Regions from separate parts of the Homo sapiens genome. Here regions 2, 3 and 4 are each linked to region 1. The links are contacts of gene promoters, found by promoter capture Hi-C in human tissues and cell types (Jung and others, 2019). All regions are on one chromosome and are shown on one strand. Each heading gives the region's core, a stretch centred on a gene start or on the middle of the fragment in contact. The rest is flanking DNA. Distances are from core to core; before and after follow the strand shown. Region 1 holds the start of ZNF274 (zinc finger protein 274). Region 2 holds the start of ZNF17 (zinc finger protein 17). Region 3 holds the start of ZNF773 (zinc finger protein 773). Region 4 holds the start of ZNF211 (zinc finger protein 211).

Region 1 (6,845 bases), core at 2,727-5,226:
TGGTGTCTTGAGGAATTCCTCTCTCCACTGGCCAGAAATCTTCTGCCTCCTCTAACTGAGATACCACATCTGGTTTGGAAAGCTGATGTTCTGCTCAAAGGAAAAGAGACAGGGCTTGTGGGGGTCTGTGTTCAGGAGAAAATGCTATCCTACTGCAGCACAAGCCGTCTCCAGCTTCTCCCCTGCTAAGGCACATGACTTCTGGCCTAGAGCAGTGAACACAACTCCATCCATCCCTGTTGTTGGCTTTCCTAGACTCCTTTGCCAAGCAGCTAAGGGGTCCAGTTCTGGTCAGCCAGACACAAAGGGAGATCGGTCAGCTGGGAAAGCTTTTGCTTTCTGGTTAAACATGACAGCTGTGAAAGGGCTACCCCTTCTCCTTGTTTCTGCCTTGAACACAGATGCAATGCTTGGAGCCACAGCTGTGCAATGACTAGGGGGAACATGGAAAGGTTCACAATAACCAGAGTTTGAAGGGACAGGCTTTTTTTTTTTTTTTTTGAGACGGAGTCTTGCTCAGTTGCCCAAGCTGGAGTGCTGTGATCTGATCTCAGCTCACTGCAATCTCCTCCACCTCCCATGTTCAAGCAGTTCTCCTGGCTCAGCCTCCTGAGTAGCTGGGGTGCTCGGCTAATTTTTGTATTTTTAGTAAAGACAGGGTTTCATCATGTTGGTCAGGTTGGTCTAGAACTCCTGACCTCAACTGATCTGCCTGCCTCAGCCTCCCAAAGTGCCAGGATTACAGGCGTAAGCTACCGTGCCTGGCAGGGACAGGCTCTTTGATGCTACTCCTAAGCTGTTGGGACACTGGCATCGCATTGTCTGGAATTTCTGTGGAGTTTCTTTTTTTTTTTTTTTTTAATAGAGACACGGTCTATGTTGCCCATGCTGGTCTCAAACTCCTGGGCTCAAGCAATCCTCCTGCTTCAGTCTCCTAAAGTGAGCCACCATGCCTGGCCGGAACTCTTGTTGCAAGAACAATAAGCATCCACTACTGCAGCTGAAAACATCCCTGACAGACCCATCTCCCTGGTATTCAGGGAGGGATGGACTAGGCAATGATTCAGAAGTCATACTGAAAAGCTGCCCTTTTCCTACTGGTGCCCCTGCAGTGTGAGCCCAAGCAGACACATACTTCAGAGGTGCTACATTTGTGCTACAAAGCACAGATCCTTCTTGACCTGGAGGCCAGCCTTACCCACTGAGACCAGGTTCCTGTAGTTCTCCAGCATCACTTCCCTGTACAGGGACTTCTGTTTGAGGTCCAGCAGTCCCCACTCTTCCGGGGTAAAACCCAGTGTTACATCTTCAAAGGTCACTGGTTCCTAAAAATCCAGATTCTTGTTCAGCCACAGGCCATCCGCATCCACGACAAAAGAAAGACAGGGGAGGCTGACCAGGCCAGTGAAAGCACAGAATGGTCTACAAGATGACCCAAGGGCATTTTGGGAGTCTCATCCTGAGTTCCTGTCTTTGTCTGAAACCCCAAGCAAACCCAAGCTTGACTCTATTCAGGTTACAATAAGGAGAGCAACACATGAGATCTCTGTAGCATATGAAAATCTGTCCATTTTATTTATTTATTTATTTATTTAATTTATTTATTTATTGTTTTGAGACAGAGTCTCACTCTGTCTCCTAGTGGAGTGCAGTGGCGCAATCTTGGCTCACTGCAGCCTCCACCTCCCAGGTTCAAGCGATTCTCCTGCCTCAGCCTCCTGAGTAGCTGGGATTACAGGCGCATACCACCATGCCCGGCTAATTTTTGTATTTTTAGTAGAGATGGGGTTTCACCATGTTGGTCAAGCTGGTCTCGAACTCCTGACCTTGTGATCTGCCTGCCTCGGCCTCCCAAAGTGCTGGGATTACACATGTGAGCCACCGCACCCGGCCCTATTTTTCTTTTCTTTTTTTTTTGAGACGGAGTCTCTCTCTGTCGCCCAGGCTGGAGTGCAGTGGCGCCATCTCGGCTCACTGCAAGCTCCGCCTCCCCGGTTCACGCCATTCTCCTGCCTCAGCCTCCCGAGTAGCTGGGACTACAGGCGCCCGCCACCACGCCCGGCTAATTTTTTGTATTTTTTTAAGTAGAGACGGGGTTTCACTATGTTAGCCAGGATGGTCTCAATCTCCTGACCTCGTGATCCACCTGCCTCGGCCTCCCAAAGTGCTGGGATTACAGACGTGAGCCACCGCGCCCGGCCCCCTATTTCTTATTCATTTGAAAATTCTGACTTTGGGAGTGGTGCGTATGCCTCCTAGGGAATTCTCTGAGCTGCACCATCACACCCAAGCCGTCAGCCCCTACCCAGGGCCCTGATGCTTCTTTCTATCTCCTTCACCTGTCAGGGATCCATCCTCACCTGTCTTTTCTACTTGTTATTGAACTCTGCTGCTGTCACCTCTTGCTTGATGCCAATTTATCTGCTGAAATCTAAACATAAGCCTGATCCCTGCATAGACCTTTGGGAGGCCGAGATGGTCGGATCACCTTAGGTCAAGAGTTCCAGACCAGCCTGGCCAACATGGTGAAACCCCGTCTCCACAAAAAACACACACAAAAAATAAAAATAAAAAAAAAATTAGCTGGGTATGGTGGCACACGCCTGTAGTCCCAGCTACTCGGGGAGGCTGAGGCAGGAGAATCACTTGAACCCAGGAGGCGGAGGTTGCAGTGAGCCAAGATCGCGCCACTGCACTCCAGCCTGGGCGACAGAGGGAGACTCCATCTCAAAAAACAAAAAACAAACAAACAAAAGACCTGTCAATTACTCTTCCCAATATAAAGGATACAAGCAAGAGCCTTAACCTGGCCTTCAGAAGCCCCTACAATCTGGTCTCTATTCTAACTACACCCTTGGAAAACCAAGCAACCTGCGGTTCCACCATCACGCAGGATCTCTCATGCCCAACCAATCTCTACCCCCTCCCCGAGGTGCTCTGGAGGATGGGGGTATCTCAGGGAAGGTGGTATCTCACCACCATCCGCATCCTCCCAGGTGCAGTAGCGGACTCAAAAGCTGAAGGAAGCCTCTACTCACACAGGACCAGGCCGTCGGAAGCCTGGAGGCCATAGTTTCCTCCTTCTCAATGTGTCTCTGGTGGAAGTGGGCAGAGTCCTGAGGAAACCGAAGTTGGGAGGGGAGGGAGAGGCTTAAGGTGTCCGCTGGGGAGCTACCGCAGCCTCCGCCCAGGAACGGCTCCCTCAGCGGGAAATGACAAGTCCACCCAAACTGGAAAACGCCCAGAGTGAGTCATAGGACTCCCACAGGACTGGATAGGACCAGTTTTCCCCTCCCCGAGAGGACACCGAGCCTCCTCTGTCCCGCGCATCGGAGGGGATCGCCTCCCTGGCCCAGACCCCACGCTTCCGGAGGCGATCTGTTCTCTCCACCGCGGCGCCCCGAAAGCACTGTCTCCCCTCGGGGTTCCGGGTCACCGACCCCATCCCACAGAGCGGCGGGAGGACTGCAGGCACGGCCGGCTCAGGGTACCCGAGCTCGGCGGAAAATGCAGAGGCCGCGCTCGCCCCCAACTAACGGTTCTGGACCCGCCCAGCGCAGCCCCCGACGGACGCAGGTTTCGCGCGGCACTCACCCGGCGCGCGCCGCACAATGGCGCCCGTCGGCCGGCGGCGAAGTGCGTCAGCCCGCCGTCCCGAACTACAACTCCCAGACGCCCCCGCGGCGCGCCAGCTTGCCTCACCCAGCGGCGGCCATCTTGACTGGCCGGTTAGGGGCGGCAGGCGAAGCCGGGGACAGCAGGAGGAGGATACTCGTCGATGTCCCTCGGCGGTCCAGCTAGGCAAGGGGAGGCCTCTGGTGAGGGACGCTAGGCCGCAGGGCCCCACACTAATGTGGGCGGCGACCCGAGCTGGGAGAGAGTCGTGCCCTGCCACGAAGGCGACCACTCTTGGGGCAGAGCAGAAGCTGGAGAAAGGAAAGGCGCTGGACAGGGGTCAGGCCGGAAGTGCTGGAATGGGTGATGCTTGGTTGGGTGGCGGTGGGGGCGGGATTAATTATGACGTCCCTTGGGAAGAGGAAGGGCGGGTAGGGCCGGAAGTGCAGGGGGCGGGCCTAACTGGCCGTCCATCTGGGTGGAGGGGCGGGGACAGGGAGGGCGGGGAGAATGTAGGAGGCGGGGCTAGAGTCCACGCAACTTTTGGGGAAGGAGGGGGACTGGAAGACGGAAGTCGCGGGGGGAGTGGGGAGAGGTACTGAAGTTCCACCAGTTTCAAAGTCGAGAAAGAAGGGGAGGACTGGGAGAGCCGGAAGTGTGCAGGAGTTGGGACTGACGGCACTTATGTTTCTGGGAGATGGGTCCTGCCTGAAAGTGAGGGTGGACAGGGCCAAGTGTCCACTCAAGGTCAGGGAGGGGAGGGAAACTCGGAGGACCGGAAGTGTGATGGGAACGTGGCCAAACGTCCACCCTAGTTCTGGGGATTAGAGGAAGGGAGTAGGAAGGTCAGGGGTGTGCAAGGGGAAGGAGGGAAGACTAGGTGGACCACAAGTGTGATGGGAATGAGGCCAAACGTCTACCCTAGTTCTGGAGAGATGATCAGGGCTAACTGTACCCCAGGCATTGGGGAGGAGGAGCAGGATCCTCTGCCTAGTGTCCCCCTGTGGTCCAGTTTGCTCCTGGAAGCTGAGGTGCTCATGTCTAGGGAGAGGAAACCTAAGTCTGTAGCTGTCCAGGACCTGGTGTGTGCCACCCATCCTTGGGCCCAGGGTGCTCTCATCTTCCTTGGGAGCTCAGGACAAGGAGGTATTCTCTTGGCTTCCTCAAGGACCGACATCTGGTGTTTTCTTATCTTCCTTAGGTCCCAGGTCCCAGTATGGTCTTGTCTTCTTGGGACCTGAGGGCCCTAATGATCTCTCTCAGTGCTCAGGACCCTGTGTCCTCTTTCTTGATATTTCCTGGCAGGTCTCAGCAGCCCTCTGCCTCCCTCTGGTGGTCGTGTACACTGCCTGCTAAACTTGTTCCACGGGTTGTTGGTTTTTTTGGTCACTGTGGAGGATCCAACCTCAGGCTACACATTGTTTAATTGTTGCTGTTAGTGTGTTGATTTTGGCATAGGAGTATTTACTCAGAGACTGTGCAGATATCTTATAGTCTAATAATATTTCATTGGATTTTTCGTGTCTATTATAGATACAACACCATCCCCAATTAATAAGTAATTTGATATCTTCTTTTTCCATATTTCAACTTTAAAAAATTAACATTGTATAGTCCTAGCTAGTATGACAGAGCTATGTTAAGTAGTCATGTTTACTAATAGTCTTGTTTTGTTCTGGATTTGAATAGGATACGTCTAGCCCTTCATAATCACAAGGAAGCAAACCCCCTTGGAAATTCTTTTTTTTCTTTCTTTTTTTTTTTCTTGAGACAGGGTCTTGCTCTGTCACCCCGACTGGAATGCATTGGTGCGATCACAGCTTACTGCAGCCTCCACCTCCTGGGCCCAAGTGATCCGCCCACCTTAGCCTCTCAAATAGCTGGGACAGGTGCACACCACCACACCTGGCTTTTTTTTTTTTGGAGACAGAGTCTTGCTCTGTCGCCCAGGCTGGAGTGAGGTGGCACAATCTCGGCTCACTGCAACCTCTGCTTCCTGGGTTCAAGCGATTTTCCTGCCTCAGCTGCCCAAGTAGCTTGGACTACAGGTGTGTGCCACCATGCCTGGCTAATTTTTGTATTTGTAGTAGAGACGGGGTTTCTCCATGTTAGCCAGCCTGGTCTCGAACTCCTGACCTCAGGCAGTCTGCCCACCTCAGCCTCCCAAAGTGCTGAGATTATAGGCATGAGCCACCCCGCCTGGCCTCTTTTGTACTTTTTTGTAGAGACAGAAACCTCACTATGTTGCCCAGGCAGGTGGAAATTCTTCTAATGATTTCTTTCTATTTATGTGGTATAGGATAAAACCTGATTTTTGATTAAAAGAATTTGTTTTTGAGACAGGGTCTTGTTCTGTTGCCCAGGCTGGAGAGCAGTGCTGCAGTCATGGCTTACTGCTGGCCCAACCTCCTGGGCTCAAGTGTTCCTCCCATCTCAGCTTTCCAAGTAGCTAGGACTGACTACTGGTGTGCATCACCACACCTGGCTAATTTTTAATAAATATTTGTGTAGAGATGAGGTCTCAGTGTGTTGTCAGGGCTGGTCTTGAACTCCTGGACTCAAGCAATCCTCCCGCCTTGGCCTCCCAAAGTGCTGGGATTGCAGGCGTGAGCCACCATGCCTGACCAAAGATGTTTTGTTTTTTTTTTTTTGTTTTGAGACAGAGTCTCGCTCTTTCGCTCAGGCTGGAGTGCAATGGCGTGATTTCGGCTCAACTGCAACCTCTGCCTCCCGGGTTCAAGTGATTCTCCCTGCCTCAGCCTCCTGAGTAGCCGGGCGTGCCACCATGCCCGGCTAATTTTTGTATTTTTAGTAGAGATGGGGATTTGCCATGTTGGCCAGGCTGGTCTCGAACTCCTGACCTCAGAGGATCCGCCCACCTCGGCCCCGCAAAGTGCTGGGATTACAGGCTTGAGCCACTGTGCCCAACCTAAAGATGGTTTTATATAAGCATATTATTGAAGATTGATTTATGAGAGCCATTTTAATTCAACTTTTAATAACTGCATACTCTTTTCCTGTTTAGCAAATTAAATATGCTGTTTATTGTAATTTGTAAAATAAAAATGACTTCTGAAGAAATGTTAACTATTAAACATGTAAAATGTTGAAAAAATTTATTCATCGTTGTTGGATTTAGACAGTGCCTCGATTGCTTGTTCAAAACCTTCTGAGCCAGATGTATTTTGGAATTCATGATCATTTGGATTTTAGTAGGATGGTAATGTATT
Region 2 (6,845 bases), core at 1,947-4,446, 770 kb after region 1:
TCTGGAAAAAAAAAAAAAAACAAGGCCAGGTGTGGTGGCTCAAGCCTGTAATCCCAGCACCTTGGGAGGGCCGAGGCAGGCAGATCACGAGGTCAAGAGATTGAGAACATCCTGGCCAACATGGTGAAACCCCATCTCTACTAAAAAATACAAAAATTAGCCGGGCATGGTGGCGGGTGCCTATAATCCCAGCTACTCGGGAGGCCGGGGCAGGAGAATCGCTTGAACCAGGAAGGCGGAGGTTGTAGTGAGCTGAGATCGCGCCACTGCACTCCAGCCTGGAGACAGAGCAAGATTCTGTCTCAAAAACAAAACAAAACAAAAACAAAAACCTAGACAACCTCAGGCTGCCATTCCATGCCTGATCCCTGCATGCCCCGACCTCCTGCCCTGCTGCTGTGCTCCTTATCCTTGCCAGCTAGAACATTAAGCTACAGTTCTCTAAGCATCCCATCTAAGTCTCACCACCAAGCATTTGAACATTCTAGATCCTGTGTTTGAGATGCCTTGCCAAATCTCAAACCATCAGTTGTGAGAACTAGAACCACTCTATATAACCAGGCACTGAGTTTGGAACCCAGGTCTGGTGGAACTACAGGCTCTCCTTGGACCCAAGGGAGAGAGAAGAAAAGGTGAACAGTCTCAGGATAACACCATTCCCTATATCAGCATGCTGAAACCATCTGGGATGGGTGAAAGCTGGAAACACTCTCCACTCACCTGTCCAGCATCCATAAGCATTGCTGCCACTGCTATGAACCCTGTGGGAAGAGGCAGGCCATGAGGATTAAGACAGCATTGCAGCATCCTACAGGCTGACTGTACAACCACCTCTGGCCCTGCAACTAGAGCAAAGTTATCTGAGGGTACACAGTAAGTCCTCAGGGTTCAGTGTCTTGATGAGGACTGAACTTCCTTAAGTCTCGGTGCCCTTATGTGTAAAATAGAGATTAAAAGGATTGCCAACTAATAGGGCTTATATGGGCATCAAATATAAGTAGTACACACTATGTATCAGCAATTTCTTTCTACTGGATTAAATATTTTTTACATGTTTTCGGTACAAATGACATGGAAGGGTTTTGAAATTTTGGGTGTGTATTTTTCCCACTTCTTACGGTGTTAAGGAAATGTGATACATAAAACTTTCCATTGCAAGCAAATAGAAAAATTAACATTCAGCCGGGCATGGTGGCTCAAGCCTCTAATCCCAGCACTTTGGGAGGCCGAGGTGGGCGGATCACGAGGTGCAGAGATCAAGACCATCCTGGCCAACCATGGTGAAACCCTGTCTCTATCAAAAATACAAAAATTAGATGGGCATGGTGGCGCATGTCTGTAATCCCAGCTACTCGGGAGGCTGAGGTAGGAGAATCGCTTGAACCCGGGAGGCAGAGGTTGCAGTGAGCCGAGACCACGCCACTGCACTCCAGCCTGGCGACAGAGCGAGACTCCGTCTCAAAAAAAAAAAGAAAAAAGAAAAATCAACATTCAACAATTATTAAGTGAATAAATTTAACTATTGGTTACATTCATTTCTAACTGCCGACCTATGTGTACATATTTAGAAGGATACTGGTTCATTAGTGGTTAAATAAATGTTTTATACATTCGGCCGGGCGCGGTGGCTCATGCCTGTAATCCCAGCACTTTGGGAGGCTGAGGCGTGCAGATCATGAGGTCAGGAGATAGAGACCATACTAGCTAACACGGTGAAACCCCGTCTCTACTAAAAATGCAAAAAATTAGCCTGGCGTGGTGGCGGGCACTTGTAGTCCCAGCTACTCGGGAGGCTGAGGCAGGAGAATTGCTTGAACTCGGGAGGCGGAGCTTGCAGTGAGCCGAGATCGCGCCACTGCACTCCAACCTGGGCGATGGAGCGAGACTCTGTCTCAAAAAAAAAAAAAATGTTTTACACATTCATAAATAAATAAGTTGCAGGGAGGGGATAAGCAAGCAGGTCAGTTACTGGTCCCATCAGCAACCAGGCCTGCCTGCTACAAATTCAGTTGCTGGAAGCTTGCTGGAGGCCCTTGACTAGATGTGAGAAAGCCCTACCCCCGTCTGGACCCAATGTCCCCACTAGTCTGGATGACCTTCCTATTGTTCCACAGAGTGGGCCTGGGGGGCTGCTGGGTCTGCAGGTGCAGAAATCTAAACCACCTCACACCTCAGTCTCCAGCCTAGGCCAGTTCCTTAACCCATTCAGAACTCCGTTTTTGCAGATATGAGCCAGAATCCCTCCTATGACAGGTCTGCGCCTTTCTAAAGGTAGCGTCAGGCTTATGGACCCACCCATGATCTGCCCTCCAAAACTCAGCCCTCCAAAATGCAACTCATAATCCTCTCTGAAACCTGCTCCCTAAGCTGACTTCTCCAACTCCATTCTTTCAGATTTTCAGGCCAAAACAAAATCCATGGAATAGACCCTTCACTACCCTCACTGCTACATTTGATGCAGCAGGAAATCCTGTCGACTCTATCTCTGAGATCCATCCAGAATCTCATCACACTTCCCCTCTACTGCAACCCCTCTGGCCCATCCCTACCATAACTCAAGGGGTCTCCTCAGCGGTCCCCTTGTCCTGGTTTAACATCCTGTTTTTCCCAACTTTAAACGTCTACCTCTGGGCATAACCCTTCCTGCACAGCCTTCTACGGCTTTCAGCAGCTCCGCTGCCCTCCCAGGCGAGACTCCGCCTCACCCTCAGCTCCGTGGAGACAAAGACGCTCGGGCTCCCCAGTGCCGCCCGCTCTGCAGCACCTCTAAGCCTCGCACGTGCAGGTCCCTGACAGGAGCTCCCCCGCCTCACAGCACCGCGGACACCGGTACCCCACACAAGAACGCTCCTCTCTTTGGGACACAGGGGCCTGACCTGCAGGGCCCCTCCTCGGGGCTTCGGCACTCGGAGGAGGGATCGGGCGGGGCGCCCTGGGACGCGGCACCCACCTCAGTCAGGTTCATCGGCGCAGCCTCCGCCAGCACAGCCAGGGAAGAGCGGGGCGGGAGCGGCAGTGACCTGGACGCTGACAGAGGCACCAACGCCTGCAACCGATTCAACCGAGCCTCACTCTAGCCTCTGTACAACGGGGAAACCTTTTCTCGCGTTTTTCCGCTTTTTCACCTCAGTCTCGACTCAGCCTGAAGGTGAACAGATCCCAACGCAGCCATATTGACAACCCCAGGAGGCGTTGCAGGAAGTCCCGCCCACACGCATTGCGAACCCCCGTAGACGCCGCTCTGCTAGGCCTTCATTGGCTACACTCGCTGCTTGTGTCCGCCGCTGTGTCTTTTGGGTAATGTAGTTCCCAGGCCACTGCCTGCCCCGCTTCTGAACTTAAGTTAACTCGCGTTCAGGATGAAAGCCAGGAGGATCCTCCTGAGGCTTTGAGAAATGCAGTTGCGGGGCTCCAAGGACGTGGAGGGGCTTCATTGGCTTTTAAACGGCAAGCATCCAGATTTTCCCGGAAGGCAGTCTAGAACAAGTCAGAGAAATGTTTCAGAGACCTGTCCTTTCAGATTCTGTAAAGCACAGCAAGTTCCCAAAAGACGAACATCCGAAGGAACATGGCCAACCATAAAGAACTGGTCTTCCACGCATAGCGGTCAGCTCTTTTGTGCTTGCCAAATACACACAGAACGAAGCTCTGGAGACTGTTTTATGATCTTCAATGTGCTCTGCTGGGCACATTGAAAAGACCCAGACATGGCATGATGGGGAGTTTGAGGAGTAATATCTTTCCTTTCTGAATAATCAGTTATTGTCTTTCAGCCTACCCAGCAACACTTTATTCACATGATACTTATTACTTTATATCTGAGATATTTTCCACTTATTTTAAGAGACTGAAACCTAACTGAAAAGGAAAAGCGACTTATCTACCATTATCTGCCAGAATAGTGTGGCCTTCCACCAGTCAAAGCCCTTGTGCAAAGAAAGCATCTTACTCCTGAGATAAAGGTTTGGGAATGCATGATCTCATCTCATTAGTGGAAAGTGATTTATCATTTCGCCTGAAATTGTATCAACAGTGTCTGCACAGGGAGTTGAAATTGTCTCTGAATAACTCTTGTGAAATGGCTATTACTGAAACTATTAATGACGATTATGTAGATATCCAAAGAAAGTGGCAAAAATAGTTATAGAGAAACATATTTGTGATAGGAGGAAAAAAGCTAAGGTTGTCCTGGAACCTTGGACACACTCAAGTTTGGTGTCCAAAATCTGATTCTTTTTCAAACTTGAAAACATTGTGCATTAACAGCTTGAAGGGAGAGGTAAAGACTATATATTAAAAGAGTTACCAGAAAAGTAAAGCTGAATAGGGAAACTGTGCTGTCGTATTTATTACTCTAACATATTTGATGAACACTCATTCGATGCCAGGTACAATACTAAGTGCATGGGACACATTAGGAGTAGGGTTGCTAGCTGTCTGTGGTCCTCTAAGACACGTAAGACGTATTTAATGAATTAGTCCTCAGTCCTGTATTGACCTTGTCAGGTCACTTTAAATGTCCTGTATTCCGCTTTTTACAATAAATTACAAAACCTCAGAAGTTAGAGCTATTTTTCTACCACTATAATTGTAAATTAAATCACTTAGCAGCTATGTTAGCTGAAAATCATACCCCCACAAATAAAGATATGGACATAGTCTTGTGATCTCTCCTGCAGAATTGGTGAGGGAAAAATAAAATGGAGCACTGAGATATTCAGTAAAGGAGAAGACTGTTTTTTGGCCAAAGTCTTGAAATTTGGTTTATCAAATTACAAAAAGAAGGAAGGAAGGAGAGAGAAAGAAGGAAACGAAAGGAAAAGAAAAAACCACCCAACTGAAGGTCTGGAAGAGTTAAAGCTGTTCAGTAGTGCCAGCTACATGGAAGTTAAGACGGGAGGATTACTTGAGTTCATAAGTTCAAAACCAGTTTGGGCAATATAGTGAGATCCCCGTCTCTGAAAAAACTGAAAATTAAAAACATGTTAATCATTTACCAACAATACATCCCTACCATCCTACAATTCTATTTCTAGATATTTACCAACAGAAACTAAACAAACTTTTTTTTTCTTTTTTTGAGATAGAGTCTCTCTCTGTCGCCCAGGCTGGAGTGCAATGGCACGATCTCGGCTCACGGCAACCTCTGCCTCCCAGGTTCAGGCGATTCTCCTGCCTCAGCCTCCTGAGTAGCTGGGATTACAGGCATGGCCACCACGCCTGGCTGATTTTTGTACTTTTAGTAGAGACGGGGTTTCACCATGTTGGCCAGGCTGGTCTTGAACTCCTGGCCTCAGGTGATCCACCCGCCTCAGCCTCCCAAAGTGCTGGGATTACAGGCATGAGCCACCTCGCCTGGCCCAAACATCCATCTAACACTTGGTGACAGGCCACATATCTTTGTGTATGTGTATGTATATATATATATATATATGGAGAGAGGGAGAGAGAGAGAGTCTCGCTCTGTTGCCCAGGCTGGAGTGCAGTCACACGATCTCAGCTCACTGCAACCTCTGCCTCCTGGGTTCAAGCAATTCTCCTGCCTCAGCTCCCGAGTAGCTGGGACTACAGGTGTGCACCACCACACCTGGCTAATTTTTGTATTTTTAGTAGAGACAGGGTTTCACCATGTTGGCCAGGCTGGTCTTGAACTCCTGACCTCATGATCCACCCGGCTTGGCCTCCCAAAGTGCTGGGATTACAGGCATGAGCCACCATGCCCAGCCCTTTCAACATATTTTATTAGGTGTTTCGCTACCTTTTGAAATTCCACTTTCATGTAATGAGCGGCTGTATGGTGACAATGGCCCAGGAGGCTCTGGACAGTGAGTGGACATTCTCTCCTTATGTCCCCACAAGGACCTCGTCTTGTTCAATGTTCCGACGTGTTTCCACTCATTCCTGTTCCTCACACTTCATCACCCCACCACTTGTAGACAACAATTCTAAAGGTCTGTTGTGTGTTTTTGTATTTACATGTGTTTTAGAAAGAGGAGCACTGTTACTTTTTGTGTAGTTTAATTGTACTGTACTATAGACTTCTTTCTCCCTTTGTTGGTACTCAAAATGTGTGTTTAATATGTATATATACTCCTGTGTCAAAGTCTACTTAAATGCTAGTAACTGCCCTGTTGTACTTTAGTGTGGACATTCAGTCTTCTACTTCACTCATAGATGTCTTTGGTCCTCCTCTTACACTTAATGCTACAACATATTGTCTCCATGTCCCTGCTGCCTTGAACAGTATTGTGAGAAAACTTCTCTCACATAAGAATTTATGGACTTGACTGAGAGATATACCAGAAACAGGCTTTCTGTGTCACATGATATTCTAGAAAATCATTTTTTTTACAGTACCTGTGCAGATTGCTTTATGAAACTGCTACAGTCTTTGACTCTTCCATGAAATATACATGATTGCAGCTACATCACCCCATATTTCTTTCCATAGTATAGTAATTTATAGAACTTAAAGTAACATGCAATAATATCTAATTTGCATTTCTCTGACACCGAGTTTGAATATCCATTCATATTCTTGATAACCATCTGATTTTTCTCTCTTGTTTATTGTATGCTCGTGCTTTAGTTCATTTCTAAGATCTCTGACTTTATTCCTTTAAGAAGAATCTGAAACTTTGGCTGGGCACAGTGGCTCATGCCTGTAATCCCAGTACTTTGAAAGGTGGAGGTGGAAGGATCATTTGAGTCTAGGAGTTCGAGACCAGCCTGGGCAGTATAGTGAGATCCCCGTCTCTACCAAAAAAGTTAAAAATTAGCCAAGCATGGTAGTGCGCACTTGTAGTCCCAGCTACTGGGGAGGCTGAATGGGAGGATTGCTTGAA
Region 3 (6,845 bases), core at 1,574-4,073, 680 kb after region 1:
GAGATCATGCCACTGCACTCCAGCCTGGGCGACAGAGCGAGACTCCATCTCAAAAAAACAAAAACAAAACAAAACAAAAAAAACGCAGACTTCAACCACATCTCCTACGTCCACAGCCACCACTCTGGTCCAGCACTCACACAGACTACTGTAGTAGCCTCTTTGCTGGACTCCCAGCCTCCACCTTTAACCCTACAGGTGTTCTCAAAGCAGAAAAAGCTTGTTAAGATTGGGCCGTAATCCCTGTGTAGCCTTCCCCATTTCCATCCTTCCTGATATCCAGGAAAAAACAAACAAACAAAAATACAAACAATAGAGGCCCAGCTCCTCAGCCAACCACTTCAGGTCTGCCTTATACCTGCTGATGCTTCCCCCAGTCATAATGGAGATCTAAGGTTGCCTAAGCATTCCCAGCTCAACCTTACCTCCACGTATTTTCTAATGTTGATCACTATGCCTTCTAAATCTCCTGTCATTGGTTGCCAGAAATGAGAACCTCTCCATATAACATATAATCTGGGCCAGGCGTGATGGCTCATGTCTATAATCCCAGCACTTTGGGAGGCAGAGGTGGGCGGATCACCTGAGATTGGGAGTTTGAGACCTGCTTGACCAACATGGAGAAACCCCGTCTCTACTAAAGATACAAAATTAGCCGGGCGTGACGGCACGTGCCTGTAATCCCAGCTACTTGGGAAGCTCAGACAGGAGAATCGCTTGAACCTGGGAGGTGGAGGTTGCGGTGAGCCGAGATTGTACCATTGCACTCCAGCCTGGGCAACAAGAGCTAAATTCCGTCTCAAAAATAAATAAATAAATAATAATATGTAGTCTGGACTCAGGACCCTGACTGTATGACCATTTTGCAGGGAACTCAAATGGAAGGGGAGGGAGAATAGCCAGCAAGGAGTCCCAAGACACCATAATTCTGAAGACCATGTAGGTAGGAGTTGAGGAGGGTGAGGGCCTGAGACATCCTCCACTTACCTTCTCATGGTCTATAACTAACTCTGAAGTCACAAGAACCTATGGAAAATCAAGACCATGAGAACCAGACAGTGATGTTACCAAAGGATCATCCAAGCCCCCTCGTCTAGCCTGGAGTCAGGTGTGCCTGACTATCTGCAATCTGGGCTTTGGTTCTTAGTGATGCCTCTTACCTGTTGTGTGCCCTTGGAAAAATGCTCAACTTCCCTGTGCCTTGGTATTGCCATCTGCAACATGGCAATAATGGTATTCACTCAATAGGACTATTGTTTGTATCAAACTCATTCTTATGTGTCTAGGACTAAATATCAACTCTTACTGTACACATAATTAATGCTTCTGTCAACATTTTCAGTGCAAATAAACTGGTAGGTTTTCAAAATGTGGGTTTCTGCCTGGGTGCAGTGGCTCAAGCCTGTAATCCCAACACTTTGGGAGGCCGAGGTGGGCAGATCACAAGAGCAGAATTCTGTCTCAAAAAAAAAAAAAAAAGAAAGAAAAAGAAAGACAATGTGGGTTTCCTTTTGGCAATCTGGCTGCCTGCTATATACTCCCCTGAAGACCATCCTGCTGAGAGCCCTCCCTTCTACTGGAGCAGTTGATCATCCCACCTGTGCTGATAGCTAGGGAAACTTAGGCACCAAAGGTGCTGCTCCACCAGCCTGGCTGACCTTTCCTTTTCTCCATATGGACTGGACATGAGGAACTACTAAGCCTGGAGTGGCAAACCTATATACTACCCAACACTGCGGTCTCCATCCAGTCCTGGGTGTTCATACTCTATAACCCTCCATTCCTGCAGGCACCAGACAAAATCACTTCGGACCACGAAACTCCAGGCTGTAGAGGCTGCCCCATCCTACAGGCCCATCTCTCCCTTCCCTCACCTCAGGGACCATCTGAAAGAAAACTTTAAGATTCTCCCTCCTAAATACGAGCCCCAGGCCTTCCAGCTGCTCATGTGGACATGACACCTCCACTCTGGGACATCTCAGGATCACCATGCCCAAAACCTATTCCCTGCACAGCCTTACCCATCTCCATCCTTCCTGATATTCAGGAACAAACAAAAATACAAATAAAAATCCAGAATGGCTCTTCATTCCCTACTTTCTTTCACAGTCACATCTGATGCAACAGGAATTCCCGTCTGTTCAGTTTTTGAAATCCATCCAAGATCTGATCACTTCCCCTCCTCTGTGGCCCAGTCCCAGTAGACTCTCCACTAGTCTACTGAATTTACCTACTCACAGGTCTGTCTTCACCCGCCTCACCCCCACCCCAGTCTGTTTTGACTTGAAGGGCCTTTGGCAAACTTTGAGAAACAGATCTTGTCACTCTTCTGTCTCCAGCCCTCCGCGGCCACTGTGGCCCCCTCAGGATGAAAGCGCAGCTGCTCGGGCTGTCGCTCGACACGCGCCTCGTCCCTTCCCAAGCTGCCCACTACAGACACCAGGAGGCCTCAGGTTCGGGACTCGCTGAATGCGCCTCACATCTTTGCGAGCCGGGCCCCTTGCCCTCCATTGCCACCCCATCACACTGCGTGTCAGAAACGGGACGCCGCCCACGAACGCCCCACAGTTCTGCACCCGGGGACCTGAGCAGGCGGCCCTCACAGGGCTTTAGGATTCGGGGGAGGCCGGGAGGACGCGGCGCTCACCTGAGCGGGGTCCCTCAGCGTGGCCGCCGCCATCGGAGCCTGTGGCGGTGAGACAACGACCGAGGAAAGGGCCCGGGCCACCCTGGGCGCCGCCACCGAGCCTCAGACCCGCCTCTGAGCTGCGAGAACACAGCGCGTCCCCACCGCGCTTTCCGGAGCTGGTCGCCGCAGCGAACAACCAGCTTCCGGCAAGCTGAGTTCTCTTGAGGGCAGCGAAAGCAACCGCCGAGGGGAGACGCCGGAAGTCCCGCCCATTGCGCGTCGCACTCTCGGGTAGACCTCTTTTCATTGGCCAAGCATCGCGGCTCACGGCGCGGCGCCTTCTGGGCAGTGTAGTTCGCGTGGCTCCAAACTTCGAGGAAGTGGGCATAACTTCGGAGATGGAGATTGGAGACGGTAGATGATGGAGATGGAGATGGAGATGGAGATGATGGAGATGATGGAGATGGAGATGATGGAGATAGAGATGATGATGGAGATGGAGATGATGGAAATGGAGATGATGAAGATGGAGATGATGGAGAAGATGGAGATGATGGAGAAGATGGAGATGATGGAGAAGATGGAGATGGAGATGATGGAGTAGGAGATGGAGATGGAGATGATGGAGATGATGGAGATGGAGATGATGGAGATAGAGATGATGATGGAGATAGAGATGATGATGGAGATGGAGATGATGGAGATGGAGATGATGGAGATAGAGATGATGATGGACATGGAGATGATGGAGATGGAGATGATGATGAAGATGGAGATGATGGAGAAGATGGAGATGGAGATGATGGAGTAGGAGATGGAGGAGAAATGAGTGTCGAGAACTCTCGGACTCATCTGGAACCTGTTGTAATTGGAGATGGGCCTGGATTTCAGTTTCCTGCAGCTGATACTCCAATCTTTCCTTCTTTTGAAGGACTTGAAGAGGATCTTCAGGGCCACCATAAAGAGGTTTCACTGGGCAAAGCCACGTATACCTTCCTAAATTTCCTTTGGCAAGGGGACACCCAATATTAATGCCTGATGTATGATAATAAGAAAAGGCTCTGAATTCTGGATGTAGGTGATGAGAGAGTAGGGGAGCCCAAGGATTTACGTTCCTCTTTCACCCCATTCTCATTTGTGTTCTTTCCTTCCTCAAGGACCCAACATTGGTGTAAAGGCACAACAACAGGCAGCAAACCCATAAGCCAACTCCCCCTCAATTTCTCCCCTTCATCCATTTCTGCTCCATATTCCTGTCACAGTTACTATGGGACTGAACGAAGGGGAACGAATGCAGAAATGAAAACAAAGGCAAAATAAATCTGTTTTAAAGAAGGGGTCAGGGGGCTTCTTGCTTCTAGTGAGGAAGGGCCCTGAGCTTCCACAGACCTTCATATTTATTGGGTAGAAAGAGTAGGGAGGTGGTGGCTTACGCCTGTAATCCCAGCACTTTGGGAGGCCAAGGCGGGTGGATCACAAGGTCAGGAGATCGAGACTATCCTGGCTAACACGGTGAAACCCCGTCTGTACTAAAAAATACAAAAAATTAGCCGGGTGTGGTAGCAGGTGCCTGTAGTCCCAGCTACTCGGGAGGCTGAGACGGGAGAATGGCATGAACCCGGGAGGTGGAGCTTGCAGTGAGTGGAGTTCATGCCACTGCACTCCAGCCTGGGCGACAGGGAGAGAATCCGTCTCAAAAACAAAAAAAAAGAAAAGAAAATATCGCTCTGGTTTTGTAATGATAAAATAGAACCTACATATATTTTGTGTTATGCATTCTTGGCATACCTATTTCAATGAATTCTGGTTTTTTGAAATTGTCTCAAATATTCAAAAATTTTTTCCAGTATATTTATTGAAAAACATTCACATATAATTGGACCTGTGCATTTCAAACCTGTGTTATTTAAGGGTCAGCTGTACTGTCATGAAACCACCAACACAGTCATGATAGAGAAAATTACCATTGCCTGATAACGTTTTCCTGTACTCTTTCAGTCAGAACCTTCCCCCTCAGACCGCAGGCTCAATAACCAGTGATCTGCATTCTTTTACTCTAGTTTTGCAGCTTCTTCATTTCATATAAATGGAATCATACTGTATGTCAACTTTTGTGTCTGGCTTCTTCCACTTGGCTCAGGGATTTTCAGATTTATCTATGATATTTTTACTTGTATTCATAGTTTATTCTTTTATGTTGTTGAATGGTATTTTATGTTAAGATATACCATAATTGATTATTCATTCTTCTGTTCACGGAAATTTTAGTTTGTGTGTGTGTGTTTTAAAAACAAATTCTGGTGTTTGGGTTTTATAAATAAAACTGCTGAGCATGCAAGTGTAAGTATTTCTAGAACATATGCTTTTGTTCTCTTGGGGATATCCCAATAGGTAAGATTCCTAAACTATATGGTAAGCTTATGCTACCTTTAAAGCTGCTACACTGTTTTCTGAAGTTGTTTTACTACTTTTGCAACTTTCTTGAAAAGAGATTGACAATAGAGTGTTGTGTGAGTGTATTTCTGGGTTCTCTGTTCTCTTCTGTTCATCTCTGTCCTTTAGCTAATACTGTACTCTCAATTACTGTACGTTTGTATGTCCTAAAGTCATAAAGATTTTCAAACTTATTCTTATTTATAAAATTGTTTTGGCAATTAGTCCAGGCCCTTTGTATTTCCATGTAACTTTTTAGAATACATTTGTAAATTTTTATTTAAAAGATTAGGTTTTTATTAGGATAGTTAAAGGAAAACTGACAACTTCAAAGTATTAAGTCTCAGATTCAGGAACTTCTTGTGTCATTTATTTATGCCTTGTTTAATGTCTCTCAGGAATGTTTTAAAGTTCTTGAACATATTTTGTTAAATTTATTTCTAAATATTTCATATTTTTATGCTATTGTGAAGTACATTTTTTCAGTTGCCAAGCATGTATTTGCTAGCTATATACCAACCTAGTAGAGACACCTACTTTTTATACACTGGCCTTTTTATCTTAGGACCTTGCTAAACTCAATTATTAGATCTAGTAGCTTTTTAGTAGATAATTTCGAATTTTCAACATTATCATGTCATATGTAAATACAGACAGTTTGGGTTCTGCCTTTACAATCATTAGATTTTTTTTTTAATGAGAAGTGATGAATGTTGACGTATTTATGTTATTCCTAATGTTGGGGAAAATCAGCTTATCAAATATTTGATCACATATATATCAAATGTGCTGTTAGCTGTTTTTCATAGATGTGCTGTATCAGGTTGAAGAAATCACCATCTTGTTTAATTTGTTGCATGTATCATAACCTAGTTTTGAATTTTGTAAAATGCTTTTATTACATTTTGAGATTTTCATTTTAGTCTGCTAATATAGATTAATAAAGAGTTTGAATTGTTGAATCAAACTTGTATTATTGATAAACCTCACTAGGTTATGATTTATTATTGTTTGTATATGGCTGGATTCAATTTGCTAAATGTCTTTTTGTTTTGTTTTAGCATGAGTGCAAGTTTATTTAAAAAGGCTTTAGAACAGGAAAGAAAGGCAAGTATGCTTGGAAGAGACCCAAGGGGGTGATTTGAAGGACGAGTGCCTCAATTTGCTAAAATTTTCTTAAGGCTCTGTGTCTATATTCATGTGATTATTGGTCTATAGTTTTGTTTAATGTCATTGCCTGCTTTAGTGTCCTGTTAATGCTAACTTTCATATAGTCCAGAATTCTTTGAACCTTTGTCCTCTTGGAAGTTTGTATACAATTGGTATTACTTCTTCCTTTTTCATAAAAGTTCTTATATATCCTAGGAATGACCCTCAGCTGATGCCATCAAGAAAAAGGAATCTCAGTCCTACAACCACGAAGAACTTAAATATGCTAACAACTGAAATAAGCAAGAAACAGATCCTCCCTGAGACTCTAGAAAGGAACATAATCATGCCAACACTTTGATTTTAACCCAGTGAGACTTCTGTTATATTTGTGTTGTTTAAACCATAAGTTTGTGGTGATTTGTCAGGATAGCAATAAAAAGCTAATATGTCAACATTATTCTGTGAACATTTATTTATTTTCCAATGCAGTATTTCCTCAAATCATGTTGTACCTTTTCTGCCACAACTTGAAAACAGCCTCTTCTCTAAGGAGTTCTGGTTCCTTTTATTAAAAAATGATATAAACCAATAACTGGGTATTAAATGTGCTCAAAACTACTGGAATGCCATG
Region 4 (6,845 bases), core at 2,420-4,919, 550 kb after region 1:
TGGACTAGAGTGCTCAATATTGTTAAGATGTCTATACTAGCCAAAGTAATCTATAGAAAGTGCGATACCTATCAAAATCCAAATGACGTTATTTTGCAGAAATAAAAAAATCCATCCTAAAATTCATTTGAAATATCGAGAGACACAGAATAGCTAAAACAATCTTGAAAAGGATGAAAGTTGGAAGACTCACAGTTCGTAATTTCAAAACTTACTGCAAGGCTATAGAAATTAAAACAGTGTGGTACTCCCATAAAGAAAGACATATAGATCAATGGACTAGAAGAGACCCCAGAAATAAACCCTCAAATATCTGGCCAAATGATTTTTGACCAGGAGAAAGAAGACAAATTTTTAACACATGATGCTAGGAAAACTGGATATCTACATGTGAAAGAATGAAGTTGGTCCCTTACCTGACACCACATATAAAAATTAATTCAAAACAGATCAAAGATCTGAATGTAAGTACTAAAACTATAGAAGTCTTAAAGCAAGGAAAAAGCTTCATGACATTGGACTTGTTAATGATTCCTTGGATATGATATAAAAAGCATAGACAATAAAAGTAAAAAAGTAAAACTGAATTCATCAAAATGAGAAACTTGTACATCAAAGGATCCTATCAACACACTAAAAACGTAACCCACAGAATAAGAGAAAACATTTGCAAATCACATATCTGATAAGGGAATATCTAGAACACACAGATAACCCTTAAAGCTCAATAAAAAATTATATTTAATACTTCTAATTATAATTAATAAAACCTAATTTAAAAATAGGCAAAGGACTTGAATAAGCAATATCATTTGAAGATATACAAATAGCCAATCAGCACATGAATAGATGCTCAATATCAGTAATCTGCAAATCACAACCACAGTGAGATATCACCTCACACCAATTTGGATGACTTATCAAAAAAATCAGAAAATAACAAGTGATGGTGAGGGTGTGAAGAAACTGGAACCTTTGTCAGCTGCTTGTGGGAATGTAAAATGGTGCAGCTGCTATGAAAAACAATTTTAGTGGTTCCTTAAAAATTAAAAATAATTACCTTATGATCCAGAAATTCTACTTTTGGGCCAATACCCAAAAGAATTGAAAGCAAGGACACAAATACGTATCTGTACACCCATGTTCACAGTAATATTATTCACAACAGCCAGAAGGTGAAAACAACCTGTGTCCACTGATGAAGGAATGGATAAACAAACTGTAATACATACAAAAGAATATTATTCAGCCTTAAAAAGAAGCAATTCTGATATATATTACAACATGGATGAATCTTGAAGATATTATGCTAAGTGAAGTAAGCCAGATAGAAAAGAACAAATATTGTGTGATCCCACTCATATGAGGTACTTACAGTAGACAAATTCATACAGACCAAAAGTAAAATGGTGGTTGCCAGGGGATGGGAAGAGTTATTATTTAATGAGTACAAAGTTTCAGTTTTATAAGATGAAAAAGTACTATAGAAGGATGGTGGTGATGGTTGCACAATAATGCGAATGTACTAAATGCGCTGAACTATATACTTGAAAATGATTAAAATGGTAAATTTTGTTATATATATTTTACAATTAAAAACAAAGAAAAACACCTTGAAGGAGGTTTCTATAAGAACAGTCTGTGTAATGTCTCTGCGGCACAATTTGTTAGAGTGTTCTGCTGTTAATGGAAAGGTTGGTGGTTGAAGAACAGTCTGTGTAAATAGTGGCAATGTCAGTGACTACATTTCATGTCACAGTCTAGCACAAATAAATGTTAGGTACACGAAGGGAGGGAAAACTGGGTGCCATAGATCTAGAAAGTCACCAGACAGGGAGAAGGCAAGTCAGGTGGGATCTATTAGGCTTACTGTAAGACTACTGATCCCAAATCCTTACCCAAGATGCTTTTGGGCTGGGACGATAAGGGAAGTAGGCTTGCACTCAGTCCACAACATCTACCCAGGGAACTGGGGAAGGAGGCAGTGCCTATAGTCCAGATATGAGGACAGAGCTGCTCCTGAGGAAAAGGAGAAACAGAGAGCCTAGTCCAGGGCACAAGGGTGAGTATGAGGGCCTTACCCAGGGAGGACGTAAGTGCAAAGTTCTCCAGCATCACATCGAAGTACAGGTGTTTCTGAGCCTCATCAAGGAGATCCCATTCCTCCCAGGAGAAGTACACGGCCACATCTTCAAAGGTCACACTTCCCTAGCATAATAGGGATTGATGAAACCATGAACAGTCTCAATTTGGAAGACTCAAAATCCATGTCCCCATACATTCTCCTCCCAAGATCCCCAAGTCAGAAGAGACACCAGACCTTGGTGTCATTGATCCCTGCTGTCTCTTCACATTCCCATTAGTCACTGTGTTCATTCTGTTTTCCACTCTGTATCCTGTCAACACTTGGGTTAGATAAATCTCCCTCCTCTGATCCCAAACTCCAACTTCCTCACAATAGATGCCAAACTTCACAGAAATAAAGGAAACCTGCAGTTCCCTGAACCAGCTCAGCCTCACCTCCAAGGAGTTCCAAAAGCTGGTACCTACCTGTTTCTATCATAAATTTTCACCCATCTTTCCATTGGCTGCTCCAAATGGAAACATTGGCCTGGACTCAGGGCCCTTAGCTCAGGGATTCTCCAGGGTTCCCAAACCAAACGCTGAGAGAATGGTAGGTGAGTCCCATGACACCACAAATCTAAAGAAAATATCTGTCTGGGGAGGGTGGAGGGACATTCCAGACCAGTGAGGGGCTGAGATACCTCCACTTACCTGTGTAAGTTTGAAAAGCACCTCTGTAGCTATGGGAACCTGTGGAAAGACGCAGGCCTCAGAGGAATGTGATCATGGCAGTGCTCCATGGGCACAGGCCTTCCCTGTACCCTTGCCCCGGCCCAGAGCCACGTAACTTTGGGTCGACTGTCTAACCTGTGCGCCTCGGTCCTTAGTGCTGCCTCTCACCAGTTGTGTGGCCTTGGAAAAATATTCAACCTCCCTCTGCCTCAACGTCCTCATCCATCTCTAAAGTCTTTTCTTCCACTGAACAGCCTGCAGAGGATTTTTCAAATTTAACTCAGATGGTGTCTCTCGTTTGCGCAAGCTCTCTATGGCTCCCACGGCCCTAAGAATAAAGGTAGATCTCTCTCAAACTTTGTTCCCTGCAGTAACAATGTGGAGCCCAGGTTCCTGAATGCCCCCTTCTCGGTTGCCCGTCCAAGCCCTGCACGCGCCGGTCCTGTCCCTTGTCCCCCTGCCCACCACATCGGATGTCAGAAATAGGGGCCCCACCCACGAGCCTCAGTGTCCCCGACCCTGTGCTACAGAGACGTGAGCTGGTGCCTCTCACTTGGGACTTAAGAATCTCGGCCGGGGGAGGCCCGGAGATCGCAGCGCTCACCGAAGCCGGGTCCCTCAGTGCGGTCGCCATCCGAGTCTGTGGGCGGAGCTGGACCGGGAGCTGCGGGCGACCCGGGGGGAACCCGAGCATCGCTATCCCCAGGCCGGCCTCGCGGGCGGCTCTGCCCCCGACCCTCAGACCTGACTCTCGCGCCTTCACGGTCCGTCACTTCGATCCCGATGCAGCGTACCAAAGCGGCTGACAGACAGAACGGACCTCCGGGAGGGCAGCCAAAATGACCGCTGCGAAGACGCCACAAGTCCCGCCCTGGGGGGGGCGGGGGTAGACCCACACGGAAATGCCCCTGTCTTGGATTTTCATTGGATCAAAGTACTGCCGCTCGACGCAAGGCTTTCTGGGTAATGTAGTCTCCCCCAGGCTGCGACGGAGGGCGCCTTGTGTGCAGACAGCTGGGAGCGCTAGGAAGCTGCGTCTGCTGCCTTCCAGGGCGACTGAGGGGCTTCGGTGTTTGAGGTCTTAAGTAGGTTGACACTTGAACAACACAGGTTTGAGCTGTGCGGGTCCATTTACACGTAGGCGTTTTTTTTCCCCAATAAACGTTACTTCGAGTGTGCTCCTTTTCCTGCCTCTTCCAGCTCCCCGACCTCTTGCCCCAGAGACAGCAAGACCTCATTCTCTTGCCCAGCATGAAGAACACAAGGATGAAGACCTTTATGATGATCCACTTCCACTTAATGATTAGTAAATGTATTTTCCCTTCCGTATTCTTTTATTTTCCTTTTTTTAATTGGGTGTAATGTCAACGAGCCTCTTACAATTTTCCTGATACCCTTTCTCTGGTCTGTTTTAGTACAAGTATAGTTCTTATACTAAAATATATATAATGCATATATCATACAAAATGCATATATCATATATATTATGCATATATCATGCATATATCATACAAAATGTGTTAATCGACTGGGAGTTTATGTAATTCATAAGGCTTCCGGGCAACTTCATAAGGCTTCCGGGCAACAGTTGGCTATTAGTAGTTAAGACCTAGGGGAGTCAAAAGTAATACAAGCATTTTCAATTCCGCAGGGGTCGGTATCCCTGACCCCTGCGTCGTTTAAGGGTCAGCTGTATATCAGTCTCTAGTGTAGAGGTTCACTTCAGTATTTAGACATCATTTCAGATTCCATGCAGCCCACCCCAGCAGATCTCCACTGGTAGTGGGAAGCGAAAAAACGTTATCTTATTGCTCTTCAAATGCATGCAGCCTGAAGTGTTAAAGTCACTTTTTGTAGGTTTTGTCAGGGACAAAAGACACCAGACAGGGCTACAATGGGAAGATAGTGGAGGGATAGTGGGCAGCCCTGAAGCCAACGGACAAGGGAAGTTCCCTGCTTCTGGTGCCCCCAGAAAACGCTCTCCTGCCTGCAAAGTCAGTTTTGTTCATAAAACATGAAGCTTTAATACATGAATGTTCATTTTCCTTGTATAATCAAAACATTTAATTTTTTTTTGAGACAGGGTCTCACTCTGTTGTCCAGGCTGGAGTACAGTGGAACAATCATAGCTCATTGCAGCCTCCACTTCCTGGGCTCAAGTGATCCTCCCACCTCAGCCTCTTGAGTAGCTGGCACTACAAGCACACCACCACACCCGGCTAGTTAAAAAAAAAATTATTGTAGGAATGGAGTCTCCCTATAGGGCCCAGGCTAGTCTCAAACTCCTAGGGCCATGCAATCTTCTTGCCTCAGCCTCCCAAACTGCTGAGATTACAAGCATGAGTCACCATGCCCAGACAAAAGTTTTTAATGCATAAAATATCAAATTATTATCATTATTTTAAACAGGGCCTCACTCCGTCGCCCAGAAAGTTTATATTATTTTAAGGTACATATATGCACATTGTTAAATGTACACATATACATTTTATATATATTAGATAGATCAAATTTTACGTTTCACAATAAAAATGATCCTTTAGGACAAATTAATACCAGTAAAATAAAATAAAATTAAAAGTTGTGAAATGATTTTATCAAATATATAATGTATTTGTTTACACATTTACTACAAAAATTTATAAGTGGAATGACTACTATTGTACATCTGGTTAGATCTCACAATGGGCTTGTCATTGTTTTTAGGAAAAAGGTTAGAGTTCTTGGCTGGGCCTATATTACAGAACCAACCATTACATATTGCTTCACCTCCTACCATGTATCTCCTCTATATCCTACACATGCTGAATTTCCTCAGATCCCTGAAAGCTGTGTGTGCATTCACATGCAGGGATCTTTCCAGGTTACCTTTTTCCTACCTGAGACTGCTGAATCCTATTGTGCTTTAAAAATTCATACTTTCAGGTAATCAACTGAGAAACTAGTGAAAAATGACATAACTGGCTGGGCACAGTGGCTCACACCTGTAATCCCAGCAGGTGTGATTGCTGCTCCCACCTTGGGAGGCCGAGGTGGGCGAATCACCTAAGGTCAGGAGTTCAAGACCAGCCTGGCCAACATGGTGAAACCCCGTCTCCATTAAAAATTCCAAAATTAGTCGGGCGTGGTGGTGGCACCTGTAATCCCAGTTACTCGGGAGGCCGAGGCAGGAGAATCAGAATCACTTGAACCTGGGAAGTGAAGGTTGCAGTGAGTCGAGATCGTACCACTGCACTCCAGCCTGGGTGACAGAGCAAGACTCCAAAAAAAAAAAAAAAAAAAGGACACAACTCTTTATGTCCAAATTCAATGTTTCCATCCATTGCACGTACTCAAAACTTCCCAGTACTCCTCATGAGGTAATGAAGCATAGGTTAAGTAAGTTTTGTATAATTGTGTAAATTTTTCAGGGCCGGGCTTGGTGGCTCATGCCTGTAATCCCAGCACTTTGGGAGGCTGAGGCAGGCAGATCACAAGGTCAAGAGATCAAGACCATCCTGGCCAACATGGTGAAACCCTGTCTCTACTAAAAAATACAAAAATTACCTGGGCGTGGTGGCGCATGCCTGTAGTCCCAGCTACTTGGGAGGCTGAGGCAGGAGAATCGCTTGAACCCAGGAGGTGGAGGTTGCAGTAAGCCGAGATCATGCCACGACACTCCAGCCTAGTGACAGTGTGAGACTCCGTCTCAAAAAAAAAAAAAAGAAAAAAAAGAAACATCTTAATTAAAAAACGAAATGGGCAAAGACTTTAGGTTTAGATACCTCACCAGAGAAGATACACAGATGGCAAATAAGTGTATGAAAAGATAATCCCCATCATATGTCATCAGGGAAGTAAAAATTAAAACAGCACTGAGATACCACTACACATCTATTAGAATGAACAACCTCTGTAACACTGACAACTGCAAATGGTTGAGAAAATGTACAGCAACAGGAGCTCTCATTGCTGACGGGAATGCAAAGTTGTACAGCCACTTTGAAATGGAGTTTGGTGGTTTCTTACAAAACTAAACACACTTTTACCATACAATACGGTAACCATAT

What was found. Contacts are between HindIII fragments. The study calls those that stand out against the background at their distance.
Region 2: a contact is called between the fragment with the promoter of ZNF17 here and the fragment with the promoter of ZNF274 in region 1, in 1 of the 25 tissues and cell types used here (lymphoblastoid cells).
Region 3: a contact is called between the fragment with the promoter of ZNF773 here and the fragment with the promoter of ZNF274 in region 1, in 2 of the 25 tissues and cell types used here (liver and spleen).
Region 4: a contact is called between the fragment with the promoter of ZNF211 here and the fragment with the promoter of ZNF274 in region 1, in 7 of the 25 tissues and cell types used here (adrenal gland, liver, lymphoblastoid cells and 4 more).

Annotation. Positions count from the first base shown.
Region 1 is chr19:58,180,192-58,187,036 of GRCh38, reverse strand. ZNF274 (zinc finger protein 274) reads right to left here and starts at 3,976. Exons shown (of 8, transcript NM_133502.3): 1 at 3,595-3,976; 2 at 3,039-3,116; 3 at 1,199-1,325; 4 at 1-90. The coding sequence starts at 3,071. RefSeq lists enhancers at 3,124-3,313, 2,940-3,651, 3,564-3,983, 3,652-4,365. The HindIII fragment of the contact is 17,090 bases long and covers 916-6,845 here.
Region 2 is chr19:57,407,512-57,414,356 of GRCh38, reverse strand. ZNF17 (zinc finger protein 17) reads right to left here and starts at 3,196. Exons shown (of 4, transcript NM_001330617.2): 1 at 2,951-3,196; 2 at 721-761. The coding sequence starts at 741. RefSeq lists a silencer at 2,497-2,699 and enhancers at 2,943-3,002, 3,083-3,192. The HindIII fragment of the contact is 3,744 bases long and covers 793-4,536 here.
Region 3 is chr19:57,495,916-57,502,760 of GRCh38, reverse strand. It overlaps ZNF773 (zinc finger protein 773), which reads right to left and starts at 2,823. Exons shown (of 4, transcript NM_198542.3): 1 at 2,648-2,823. The coding sequence starts at 2,680. It overlaps ZNF419 (zinc finger protein 419), which reads right to left. Exons shown (of 5, transcript NM_024691.4): 5 at 6,663-6,845. The HindIII fragment of the contact is 9,164 bases long and covers 1-6,845 here.
Region 4 is chr19:57,629,992-57,636,836 of GRCh38, reverse strand. ZNF211 (zinc finger protein 211) reads right to left here and starts at 3,669. Exons shown (of 4, transcript NM_006385.5): 1 at 3,401-3,669; 2 at 2,776-2,814; 3 at 2,082-2,208. The coding sequence starts at 3,490. RefSeq lists a silencer at 3,350-3,419 and enhancers at 3,860-3,909, 3,980-4,069. The HindIII fragment of the contact is 12,794 bases long and covers 2,662-6,845 here.